Linked DNA regions of Homo sapiens: regions 2 and 3 are each linked to region 1. The links are contacts of gene promoters, found by promoter capture Hi-C in blood cells and fetal thymus (Javierre and others, 2016). All regions are on one chromosome and are shown on one strand. The core of a region is centred on a gene start or on the middle of the fragment in contact, and the rest is flanking DNA. Distances in the headings are between cores, read along the strand shown. Region 1 holds the start of ELK3 (ETS transcription factor ELK3). Region 2 has its middle 15 kb from the start of CDK17. Region 3 overlaps CDK17 (cyclin dependent kinase 17).

Region 1 (4,353 bases), core at 933-3,432:
AATCTACATTGACACATCACTATCACCCAAAGTCCATGGTTTACATTAGAGTTCATTCTTGGTGTTGTATATTCTGTGGGTCTTAACAAATGTGTCCACCATTATAGTATCATACCGAGTAGTAGTTTCCTTGCCCTCTGTGCTCCTCCTGTCCACCCCTCCCTCCCTGCTAACCCCTGACAACCACTGATCTTTTGTACTATCTCCATAGTGCCTTTTACAAAATGTCATATAGTTTGGAATCATACAGAACATAGCCTTTTCAGACCGGTTTCTTTCAGGCATATATCTCCTAAAGCAAAGCAACATGAGTTCTTAACTGTGTGGATTTTTTTTTTTTCCCTGAGGATAATAAGTTTACATTCTCTCAGTCCAACAGCTGGATCATATAGGGACACCATAGGTGTTCTACTGAGTGACAGAAGAAGATGACTGGGGATTAAAACAATAATACCCTAATTGGAAAATTAGCTGTGGGAAATCAGGGGTTGATAAGCAGCCCTCTTTTCCATATCTTCTCCTTCTGCCCCACTCTCCTACCGTGCCCCCACCCTACACCCCACGGGTTTCCCACTCCTTCTCAGAGGTCTGGAGGGCATTCTCCCACCCTTTCCAGTGGACTACCCACAGGAGCCCTGAAGCAAATGCCCGAAGGAAATTCCTATCACCTGTGTGCTCTGATAGGCACTTGGAGCTGGGATGTGGTACTAATCAGTAAAACATACCCCGTGCCCTTTAGCAGCTCACAGTTGATGGCAGTGAGAAATTTGTAAACAAAATAATCTTTCAGGAGAGACTGCAAAACTAGAAACAAACGTAGTGGAGGAACTCTTAGAATGTGGTCCTTTTGAAAGGACTCACACCCGGCCCCCAGAGAATCTGACTTAATTGGCCTGGGTTGAGTATATTGTTGGAGAGTGTCAAAACACTCCCCAGGTGATTCTGACATTAGCCGGGGCCCGGAACCACCCCCGACCTACTGAATCTGGGACTCCAGGAGAGGCCCAGCCACTAGTGGTTTAACAAGCCCCTTGGGTCAAGTTTGAAAACCAGGGGTCTGGGCTGCTAAGTGGCGGCATGGGAATGGAAGGTTCTGGAAGGTGAGCAGTGAGGTTGGGGCGCAGGCCTGGGAAGGGAGAGGCTCTTCAACAGCCATCCCCCCCAACCTTGTCTCAGCCTAGGGCAATGGGCAGGCTCTCCCATCAGAGCCTGGCCTGAGCCCTCAGAGGCAGGACCTCCTTGAGGGATGTGGAGGTGTGAAGACCAGTTCTGAGACCACAGAGGCTCCCTTCAAGCCTCAGTCTCTGACCCTGCGGGCATTATTTCCATGACTTCCAGTGTTGTGGCTCCTTATCCTTTCCCCACAGGCTCGCCCCCCAACTGAGGGCTGGCTTTTTTATTTTTTTGAGACGGAGTTTCGCTGGTTGCCCAGGTTGGAGTGCAATGGGGCGATCTCAGCTCACTGCAACCTCTGCCTCCCAGGTTCAAGCGATTCTCTCGCCTCAGCCTGCCAAGTAGCTGGGATTATAGGGACCCACCACCACACCTGGCTGTTTTTGTTGTTGTTGTTTTGGTATTTTTAGTACAGACGGGGATTCGCCGTGTTGGCCAGGCTGGTCTCGAACTCCTGACCTTAGGTGATCCATCCGCCTTGGCCTCCCAAAGTGCTCAGATTACAGGCGTGAGCCAGCACGCCCGGCCGAGGGCTGGCTTTTAAAACACCGAAAACCCAGACAGGAACGGTGTCCATCTCCAACCCCAGACGGAAACTGTGCCCGCACCCACAAGAAAAGCAGTCCTTTGCCCAGAGCAACCAAACCCTGAACCCCACTCTCGATTCCCCTCTGCCCCCCAACTCTTCCATCCCAGCGGATGGGAAACAGCGAGTCCAGCCGCCTCCCCACCTCGGGACCCCCCTCCCGGGCCAACTGCGCAGGGCACGACCCCGTCGTGGTGCCCCGCGCGCTCGACCCCCAGGGGTTGAGGTGAGGAGGGATCCCCGGTGTCCCGGGAAGCGCGGCGGCTTCTGCGGGTTGCGGGCGGACCCCCCTCCCCGTGGGGAGGGGCTGCGGCCGCGCGGAGTCGCCGCGGGTCGGAGGCTCCTCCCCGGGGTGGCCGCGCAGGAAGCGGGGCGGGTGGGGGCGGTGCGGGGCGCGCACGGGGCCGGGGCGGCGGGGGAGGCGCGGGCCTGGGCGGCCAGCCCCGGCGCACAGCCGCGGCCGGGGCGCGCGGCGCGGGGCGGAAAAGCCTGTTTACACAGACTGCACACCGCCTGGGGAATAATGCAGTAAAGGAAGTGAGCCGGCTCGGCCTGACTGCTCCAACTTCCTGCTCTCACACACACCAGAGGGGAAAAAAAAAGAGGAGCGAGAGAAAGAAAAAAAGGGGGAAAAATCAGGATCTCATTACAAGAGCCACAGACCGTCTGCAGACGCCTGTCAGCATGGAAAGTCGGGGGCTTTCGCCCGGGTCCTCCTAGAAATTCCCCCCGAAGAAGACTCCCCCACATCTGGGTAGGTAACAGGGCTTCTGCCTGTTGCTCGGACACTTAAAAAGTTTGTTTGGGGGTGTTTTCTTTTTTTCTTTCTTTTCTTGGGCGCGGTGGGGGTGGGGCGGGGGGCGCCGCGGGGTGGGCTGCGGGCCGGGGTGGGGGTGGCGGTGCGTCCGCGCGGGAGGGCCGGCCGCGGGGAGGGGGCGCCGCGGATGCTCCTGCGCCCGCGTCGCTGCCACCGCCGTCGCCCGAGCTCGCGCCGGGCCCGGGGCTGCGGGGACCCTGCGCCCGCGGCTCCCCTCCCTGGGGCTGCGCTGCGACCCCAGAGGAAGGGGCGCCGGGCGTGCAACCCTGGGAGCTCGCCCAGGGCCCCGCTGCAGGCAGCGCGGGGAGCGGGGGACGGCGAGACTTCGGGTCCCTGGGAAGAACCGTGGCAGGAGCAGGCTGAGTGCCTGGAGGCTGGACCACCGCCGACCTTCCAGCTGGGACCGCAGTCAGGCTCCCCTCGAGTGGGCAAAGTGCACTGGTGCTCGGATCCAGGGAGGAAGACAGGGATGGAGAGGGCGGTGGAGGACATGGGTCGCGAAGGTGTGGGGCTGGGGGCTGCGTCCACTCTCGCTTGGCAGGTGACCCCCGCCCAGGTCACCGCCCCAGGCGCACGCCCCATCGGACATTTAAAAGCCGGTGGTCTCTATTGGGCATGGTTTTGGAGAAGGACCAGGCAAGAAATGATCTTGGGGCCCCTTCCACTCCCCATCCCTGTTTACCTTCGAACTCAACGTTGGCCTGTGACGCTACTGTAACTTTTGGGGAGGCGGGATTAAGATTTTGGAGTAGTTAAAAAGCAAAAATAAAAGGTCTTGGTTTTGTTATCTTTTCTGAACCGAATCATCCTAGGGACAAGCTGCAGTTAGGCGGCGGGTGGAGGTGGAAGCAAGAAATGTTATTTCAGAAACTGCAAAAGGGGCTTTTTAGAAAGAAAAAAAAACGAGTGTCGGGAGAGTTTCTGGCTTGTCTGGAAACGGCAAGACTAATTGCCATGCGCTTCCGCTTTGAAACTGGCAGCAGACAGCATCTTGAAAATGACTCACTAGAGGAGCTCACAAAGAAACTGTGGTTTGCTCCTTCTTAGGTTTATGTATTTGTGCCTTTTACAGTTTCCTTTGTAGTGTTCGAGGGGTCCCCCGCCCCTTCCCCGCCAGCCCCCTCCCACCCTCCCTCATTTGAAAGCCCCTGGCCGGTCTTTAACTACCCCCACCCCAGTCCTCCAGCCTGGGGGTGGCGGGGAAAGGGGAGGCTGAGTTGTTTTTGGAGTTGGCTGCGGAGAGGGTTAAAGGGATTCTGCTGCTGCAGGGGGAAAAAGTTCCTTGAATTTTCCACTGGCTGCTGCAGGAAGAGAGAGCCCCCTTAGTCATTGCTAAGTAATGTCTGCACACACACCAACTAATCTCATTAGGAGTTTCCGCTGCTCGGCACAGGAGGGGTTTTGTGCAGCCACTGTCAGCCTGGGAGCCCGGCGCTGGGGAAGGAGACAAGTTATGGCTTTATTTACTTAGGGGTGCAGCCGCCCAACGAGCCTTTTCAGGACATGTCTTGAAAACTTTGAAGTCACTTTGGCCATTTTGGATTTCAGATTTGCAGGTTTTTCTTTCCCGCGTGTGTATGTGTGTTGAGAGGTGGGGGGAGATAAGCAGCTCACACACACCCATCTTCTCCATCTGTGCTTGTCTTTGGGGGTGGGGGGGGTGTGGAGCATGTTCCAGGCATCTATTCATGAGCCGAAATCGATTTGTGAGCCTTACAAAATACCCTCTGATCTCTTTTTCTTTCTCTCTCGCCATGGCACCCATTTATTTGGAAAA
Region 2 (4,353 bases), core at 960-3,459, 220 kb after region 1:
ACTAAAGGATTCCTGCTTACAGTGGGGAAATTGGACTGGGAACTAACAAAGGCCGTTGGGATTCCCAGCAGTAGGTACCTGTTTTTCCTAGACTACCTTTAAATTATACTCATTCATGAAAAGAAAGTTTTTGTCCACATGCTGGGCTTAATATGAATTTTTAAAAAATATTTGCTCCTGGGTTCCAACTCTGACTCTGTCACTTATAACCGTGTATTCCTACTTAGCAAGTCACTTAACTTCTTTGATCTCCATTTTCTCATCTGCAGATTGGGATAATACTTTCTGCTTTGCAAAGTGATTGTAAGGAGGCCAGAGGCAATGCTTATATAGTTCTCAGCATCACAGCACCATATTGATATTGATAGCTAATGTTGTTATTTATTGTTCATATACTAACAGCAGATGTAATTCAAATAGCCTACCCCATCTTCGAAATGGCAGACAGGAAATACCAAGAGTCAAAATCTCAACTCTCTTTTGTTGTTTTGATCGGCAATTAAAAAGAAATTCTTGGCTGGGCACGGTGGCTCACACCTATAATCCCAGCACTTTGGGAGGCTGAGGCGGGCAGATCACCTGAGGTCAGGAGTTCGAAACCAGCCTGGCCAACATAGTGAAACCCCATCTCTACAAAAACTGCAAAAAAAATTAGCCAGGCATGGTGGTGCATGCCTGTAATCCCAGCTATTCGGGAGGCTGAGGCAGGAGAATCCCTTGAACCCGGGAGGTGGAGGTTGCAGTGAACCGAGATTTCACCATTGCACTCCAGCCTGGGTGACAAAAGTGAGACTCTATCTCAAAAAAAAAAAAAAAGAAAGAAAGAAAAAAAGAAATTCTTGAACTCAAAAAAAAAAAAAAAATTCAGGCTATGAAAAGATATTTTATTGAATTAAATGTGAAAATGTATGACTTTTTTATACTTGAAAATTAAAAAAGCTTTAAATTAGCTTCCTGTACCTTTTTCTCTTTAAAGCAATGGGTTTATTTCAACATATAGCCCCAAGAACTCACCAAACTGTAGTATAAAGTATTATATCCAGAGTTCAGACAATGGCAAAGTGACACACCAGGAAAAGCCAGAGTTTGGGTTTTGAGAATAGAGACACACCCAGGTAAAGGCTGGTGTTGGTTATTTCAGATGCTTAAATCTGCTATTGGATTTGTAACTGGGACATCTGTCATTAAAGAAGAAAAACAAGCAGGAACAAGATGCGGTAGGTGGCAGATGGATTTTCCAAGCAGCTGGCAGTTAGCACAGGTTTGGACAGGTTGGAAGTCAAGGTTGAGAAAATCTGATAGTCACACATTTGGAACAAAAGACTTCACTTTCACATAATTTTGTTGTTTGTTTTATTGGTTGTTTTTTTGTTTTGTTTTGGTTTGGTTTGGTTTGATTTGTTCTGGTTCCAAATAACTTTCTTATGTCACTATGGGATGCCCCATTGAGGAAATGTAATGGCTACATATATAGTAGTTCATATAGTACATGTCTCTTACGCCTTAGACATAAGATAACTGGATTCAAATTCCAGTCCTAACACTTACTAGCTGTGTCACCTTAGGCAAATGTTTGATGTTCCAGGGGCTTCACTTATTCACTATAAAATAAAGTCGCCATTTATTTATTGAGACAGGGTCTCCATCTGTCTCCCAGGCTGGAGTGCAATGGCATGATAATAGTTCACTGCAGCCTCTGCCTCCCAGGCTCGAGGTATCCTCTTAACCTCTCAGGTAGCTGGTACAACAGGTGCATGCCATCAAGCCCAGCTAATTTTTGTATTTTTTGTAGAGATGGGGTCTCACTGTTTTGCCCAGGCTGGTCTCAAACTCCTGGACTCAAGCAATCCTCCAGCCTTGGCATCCCAAAGTGCTGGGATTATAGGTGTGAGTCATTGTGCCCAGCCTAAAGTGGGTGTTTAAACGAGCAATTCTTAACCCTGTTTATTGGTGGGAGAGGGTCATTCACCTCTTTTGACCTGATCAAAGATAAGAATCACTTTCTCACAAAAATGCACATAAACATCCCGCCTAATTTTGGCACATATTTTATCTTATTGTATTAGAAATTGACTTCTTCACACAGAAAAAAAATCCTATAAAAAATTTTCTTCTCTCATTCTTGTTTATTCACGTAAATGGAGTAATCTAAAATAAATTCAGTGAGCAAATACAAAAGAAAAAAATTAAAATTCTTCCCCCAAAGCAAATTTCAACATAAAGGCTGCCATTACTTGACTTGAGAAGAAATTACAGCATAGTCTTACATGGTAATATGCTTGTCATTTGTGGTAAGTCTATCAATTTTGATAGCAACAAATGTAAGAAAGCCCAGATTAACAAAAGTATGTTGTCGCAAATGAATAGGTTTAAGTCCAGATGCACTGGATTTCTCTAGGACCCTTCAAGCTAATGCAGTTGCATCATTTCCTCACATCTACAAAGTTGGTCATCTTTGCAAAGTCTGCATCATCTATGTTGCATATGTCAGCAAGAAAATGGTTAAAATAACCATTCCAATTTTAAGGTCAAACCAGTTTAACCTTTAGAGGTATTCTGCAGTGTTTCCGGAAGTCTGTAGATTTCTACCTTGTGAGAAATCAACATGTTTCATCACTCTTAAACAGAGCCAGGAGAATATCCTCCGGCGTGGAAAAGTTGTTCATATTTGTCTGTTCCCAATCTCCTCTCCCTCAGTGGCAACTTAGCCAAAAGGACTCACAGATTTTTTTTTTTTTTCTGGTCGGTTTCCAAAATGGCAACCTCAGGATCTTATGCTGAACAAAAGCCTTACCTTATTCATGTATTCTGCTTTTATTTCTTGACAAAAATCTCTTTAAACACCAATGAGTCAAAGCCTGGGATCTGGAGAAATTGATGACGTCTGCAGCTATAGGTAAAACATCTTTCAGGACTATTGGCAGGGACTTTAATGCTTTTGCAAGATGCTATAGAAAGCCGTGACACATAGTGACGTGTTGAGCTTCTTTCTTCATCAAAGCAGAAAAACCAGATGCATTGCCAAACATTGCATGTGTACTATAGTCTCAAGGTTCTGTTTGCAATTAGAGTTTTTACTTGAGGAAGTAACTCTCTACCATTTTAAGTAATTCAGAACCTTTGAGGTTTCCAAAAGGGAATAACAAAATTTCTTTTTAAAAATTTCAACTCATATATGACAGATAAGCATTAGAAAATGACTGAACTGAGATATGGCACTTTTTTGCCAAACAGAAATGGCATAATTGCAAGTTACTCCATGTTCTAATTCAGAATAATAGATGAAATGTCAGTAAATTCAGAATAGAGTATTTTATTTGGCAAAGGGGCTAATTCCCTATTATTCCTTTATTCCAAGTCATAATTCAACTTGACCATTTAAAAAGTACGAGGCTTACATTACATGTGGCTTCCTGTGCCTAGCAATGCAATTAGAAGCCTTGTCAGATGTTTCAGGATGGGAAGTGTTAGGGCAAATACAAGCTTTTGGAAAATTCCAGCCTTTTCAGATTGAATCTTCTTCACAAAACAACAAACAACAATAGCAACAACAAAACCACCACACTGTCTCATGAATTCTTAGGATAATATAATATAAAACTGTGTTTTTGTTTTTGTTTTTTCAGTTCTTTCTCTGCTAGCTGCCATGAGCCAGAATCAAGGTGCTCAGTAAGCAATCTGGCTTTCACATTCATAACCTTCTAGCAAAGCATATCAAACCAAGGGATACCTAAGCCTAGAAGCACTTTTTGCTCTTTCAATTTTAGCTACATGCAATATAAGTAGATTATCTGTAAACATAATGCCACATATAATTTTAATTCTTACCAAGAAAGCACTATTGAACTATCATGATATATAGTTATTTATTCTGTATAATAACTGCCCATACCACCCTGCCATTTTTTTTTTTTTTTTTTTGAGTCTCCCTCTGTCACCCAGGCTGCAGTGCAATGGGGCGATCTCGGCTCACTGCAAACTCTGCCTCCCGAGTTCAAGCGATTCTCCTGCCTCAGCCTCCTGAGTAGCTGAGCATGTCAAACATGCTCTTGGGGTCAGATGAGGAGGCTTACAGTTGTAATTCAGAACTTTGGGAGGCTGAGGTGAGAGGATCATTTGAGCTCAGAAATTTAAGGCTGCAGTGAGCAATGATAGAGGCACTGCACTCCAGCCTGGGCAATAGAGCAAGATCCTGTCTCAAAACAAAACCAAAACCAAACACAAACAAAAAACAGCCTCTTGGGGTTTGAGCAGTATGAGACAATTTTTCTGAAACCTGATCATACACCTGCCACCACACCCAGCTAATTTTTTTTTGTATTTTCAGTAGAGATGGGGTTTCACCATATTGGT
Region 3 (4,353 bases), core at 862-3,361, 200 kb after region 1:
AATTAGGTTTAGATTAGGTCCTAAGAGTGAGACCCTCTCATGACGGGATTTGTGCCCTTTTAAGTAGAAAAGAAAAAGACATCCTCACCTCTCCCTCCCCTCCCTCCCACTTCACCTGCAGACAGGGAGGAAAGGACTTAAGAGTGCCCAGGGAGAAGACAGCTGAGAGGGCAGGTGCTTAGCTGATTTCAGACTTCCAGCCCCGGACCTGTGAGAAAATACGTCTGTGTTTTAAGCCACCTCAATGTATGGTATTTTGTTATAGTACCCCAAGTAAAATAAGGTGATATCAAAAAATATTTTCAAAAGGAGACTTTGGAGAGCAAGATAATTTTCACCTCATCCCAATATGCCATAGATCTGTAAATCTACATCCTCAAACAGTATTCAGTATTGCAGGTTACTGCAGAACACGGTAACATTACTTATTAGATTTACTGGTAGATGTCTATTGATTTTCCATGTTGGCCAACAGGGAGAGGCAGACAGGCTGGGAACAATAAACTACACTGAGGTATATTCAATACACTTCTCTGGCCCTTGGCAATTCCTCTTGCCAGGTCAATATTTTGCAGATATCAAAAGTAACCACCAACTAACTATATTGGAAGCAAAATAATGACAAAGAATCCACTGATGACAATAAAAATTCTTAAAAGCCAGTCTAACTGGTCCTCTCCCCATCAGTTCAAAGAAATTGCCAACATTGTAGATTGAATGCTAGTGAACTACACTAGGTTCGCTATTACAGGCAGTTTTTTTAACTTCAAAAATGCTACATAAAGCACATTTTTAAATGCCATAAACCTATTGTTTATCTTCTGCATTTAAAATGCAAAATGCCATTATCACTTTATGAAATATACTTTAAATACCGATTTCCTGTTTAAAAGTTTAGGCAAAAATTATCCATTCAAAATTCAAAAGAACCTAAAACTATTCATCCTTCCCATGTATGAAAACTGAGACAATTTTTTAAACAGGTAAAATTCCCTAGAGAATATAATTTTTACAATATAGCAATAAAGTAATTATCCATCCTGAAAGTCTAAAACAAACAAAACAAACAAACAAACAAAAAATACAAAGAACATCCTGGAAATCTAAATGCCATGTAAAAGAATGCTAGCCCATGACGGTAAAATTTTCTAAAGACTAGGAAACATCAATAAAGATTCAAAATGTAATGTCTTATAAATATTCAGCATTAGTAGACAATAACAAAGAAAATCATAGGGTAAAAATTTTTGTGTTCACAGATAACTGTTATAATATTAAGGGACATCGTCATCTCCACTTTTGAATAGCTACCCCAGTTGCCATTACAGCTTCCATTGTTCAAAATAAAATAGTTGCATTGTTTTTCAGTGAAAGGAAAGAAGGAAAATATTGCTGAAAATAAGGAAAAAAACAAGCCTCAACAAAGCAACAAAATGATTTTATATGCCATCTAGTTTCGCCATAATTGTAGGACTGAACTGGTATCTGAAAACTAAATATATCAACAAACATATACGTTAAAATCTGCGCTTAGTCAACATAGCTATCCCTGTGCTACCGGGCAAATAAAATTTAAATTTTCTATTTTTTTTTTTATTAAAGCAATGACTTATTAGAGACTACTGGTATATGAAGCTGCAATACACATGGGGATCAATTCCTCCAATTTCATGTTTCCTTACTATGTATGTATCTCTTTTTGTTTTTTCATTCTGGTAACCAGAGTACATATGACAGGCTGCATTATTTCAAATACCTAACACTGAAAGTTACTTTCTGGCCTGAATCTAAGGATGAGAATGATACATTTTATAGAAGCTTCTTTTAGTACAGCAATAGGCAAATTACGATATTAACAAGACTTTAATTCTACATTTACATTTTTTTCTCATTGTAAATGTAATGTGAAACTTATAAAATACAGGAAAAAAATGTTTAATCACCAATAAATCCCACCATTCGTAAACCTTGCTACTTTTTGGTAGATTTCCATCTAGTAACACTGAAGGTTCAATTTTCTAATTCGATACTGATAAATATGCAGGAAAAAAAATCAATGGAGCCTCAATATGGCCTTTCAATAAATGTACATAAAACAACAATTATTAATTATATGACCTGTTAATTTCACAAAAGTCTCTAAAATGTTTTAAGTGGTGGAGTAGGGTAAGGAGTCCATAATTCAGACACTAGCCCTCAAACTGAAATCTCTTCCACAATGTTTGTATGTCAACCCTTTAACGGCAGTGAGCAGCAAGCTATGACTGTTCGTACAGTGATATCAACATTAATGTCTCTATATTAAACAGGCTTTGCTTTTATTTTCTTTCCATTTATACTTCAATAGTGTTTTATTTTCACTGTAAAAATAAATAATAACCTATATTTGCATAGTAATTTTACATAAGCTTAAATTCAAAGACTCCCGTTTTTTTTTAAGCCAACCATTCAAACTGTTAGTGCTTCTGGCCTATGAGATGGTTTACCAGATAAAGTAACATTCTTTATATTCCAATATTCTCTCTCATAACATAAAAAAGAATTTAAGGAATATCCCTTAGTCACATTTTCTTTTGTTCCAACCCACTGTTTATGGAAGCATGCAGATGTTAAGAGTTGCAAAAATTGAAATGACTTCATTAACAAAGCAACATCCCAACGTTTAATGTCAACTCCTCAGACTCATAAAAAAATGAAACAAAACCAATTATATTACCACTAGCAAATTTTTTCCCCTTAAAATCTAGTTTCGTCTTATTTCTAGTTTCAAGGCAAGCTTTGTCTACCCAAGGTATCAAAGGTCTTCAAATCTCATTCATTTTCTTCTGCCCAAGAGTTAAGAAAGTAAGTCTAAAACAGAACAAGCCAGATTTGTTGCTGTGATCTTCTCACACGAACGCCTTTTAAAAGAAATCTTTCAACAAAGACTCAAAAAAGAAACAGCAAAGTTTGGGGAAAGAATTGTCTGTCTTTAGGTCAAGCATTTCCTGATAAGTGACTGAAGGTCTGGCTGCCAGGAATACACTTTGCTGACCCTAGGAATGGCCAAGTCTCAAAACAAAATTTGCCTCTTCTGTATCTTGAAAGTGACCTGTTAGGACCTGATGTCAATTTGACGAAGAGGTGATAGAACATGACCAACGAGGTGTCTTTGGTGGACATATTCATGTAAAGGAGGCGAGAGCCACAGATTTCAGCTAAACGCTTTTTGCCACTTTTGCAAAAGAAAAGCTAATTGTTAACGGCCATGTGACATTATAGATCCCAGAAAAGGAAAGGGTGGGAGGAAGAGAGAGAAGTTCAAGGCAGTTCAGGGTCAGAACAAGCTCAGACATCCTGTCATTAACAAATGTTCCCCAAGCTGAAAGCAAAATACTGCTTACCCGAAAAGGAGTGGGTGAAAAGTAGGGGGAGAACGAGGGAAAAACCACAGGAGAGTCAATGTGGCAGTGTGGGGGTGACAGGAGGGAGGGAATCTGGAGCTATCCAGCTGAGTTGGGGAGCAAAAGCATCGGGCATAGCATCGGGCACAAAAATGCTGAGAAAAGCAACTGCGACGGAGACAGCACTAGGCACCCTCCTCCCCCCATTTTCCCCTCCCCATCGGTTTGCTGGGTTTCCCACCTTCCCTCTACCTCCGCTCTTGACCAACACTCCGGGGTGTGACCCGCCAGCAGGAGGCTGCCCTGATCTTTGTCTCTACCCGCTCCCACGCGCGGGCTCCTCCTCCTCCTCCGCGCTCCCCACCCGCGCACAGCGCCAGCGTCTCCAAGGAGCTGCAGGCGCCGCGACCGCCGCCTCCTCGCCCACCTCCCGCGGACCCGCGCCCCTTCCTTCCCCTCCCGGGCAGCGTCGCCTGCGCCTCCAGCTCCACCCCCGCCGAGGGGACCTTTGTGTCTCGGGGGACTTTCTGCCTCTTTCCCCTCCTCCGCCTCGCGAGGAGACCGGCCTCCCCCGCAGACCAAAGCGGCAGCGAGCACCGGAGGCGGCGGCGTCTATATCTGTCGGCGCCTCCTGGGAAGCAGCTCGCAGACACTCACACCCCACCCGAGCCCCGGAAATCCCCGGGCGACCCAAGGTCCTCGCTGGACCGGAGAGGTGACAGGCGCACGCTAGCCCCCCGCGCCGCGCCTCCTCGCTCAACTTCCCGACCGGGCCTGAGCCACCCGCGCCCCCAGTAGCCCCCGCCCCCGCCTCTGTCCCACGCAGCCTCCCGGCCCCGCGGCCGACCCGACACCAGGGGAAAGCGCGGCGCGGACGCCAGCCGCCAACTCACCAGCAAGAGCGGGGACCGCGGGTCCCGAGGCGAGGCGAAGAGAGGCGCGGGGGGAAGCTGCTCCGCGGACGCCCGCG

The links. Contacts are between HindIII fragments. The CHiCAGO score rates a contact against its expected background, and 5 or more counts as called.
Region 2: a contact is called between a fragment that was not itself captured here and the fragment with the promoter of ELK3 in region 1, in 1 of 17 cell types (total CD4 T cells). The highest score is 5.2, in total CD4 T cells.
Region 3: a contact is called between a fragment that was not itself captured here and the fragment with the promoter of ELK3 in region 1, in 7 of 17 cell types (non-activated CD4 T cells, naive CD4 T cells, fetal thymus and 4 more). The highest score is 8.4, in non-activated CD4 T cells.

What each region holds. Positions count from the first base shown.
Region 1 is chr12:96,192,193-96,196,545 of GRCh38, forward strand. ELK3 (ETS transcription factor ELK3) reads left to right here and starts at 2,183. Exons shown (of 5, transcript NM_005230.4): 1 at 2,183-2,513. RefSeq lists a silencer at 2,008-2,147 and an enhancer at 3,479-3,558. The HindIII fragment of the contact is 11,050 bases long and covers 1-4,353 here.
Region 2 is chr12:96,413,651-96,418,003 of GRCh38, forward strand. No RefSeq gene overlaps it. Among named protein-coding and RNA genes, the nearest start is that of CDK17, 15 kb to the left of the region's middle. The HindIII fragment of the contact is 2,544 bases long and covers 938-3,481 here.
Region 3 is chr12:96,395,710-96,400,062 of GRCh38, forward strand. CDK17 (cyclin dependent kinase 17) reads right to left here. Exons shown (of 17, transcript NM_002595.5): 1 at 4,277-4,353. Among named protein-coding and RNA genes, the nearest start is that of CDK17, 2.6 kb to the right of the region's middle. RefSeq lists a silencer at 4,134-4,293. The HindIII fragment of the contact is 590 bases long and covers 1,817-2,406 here.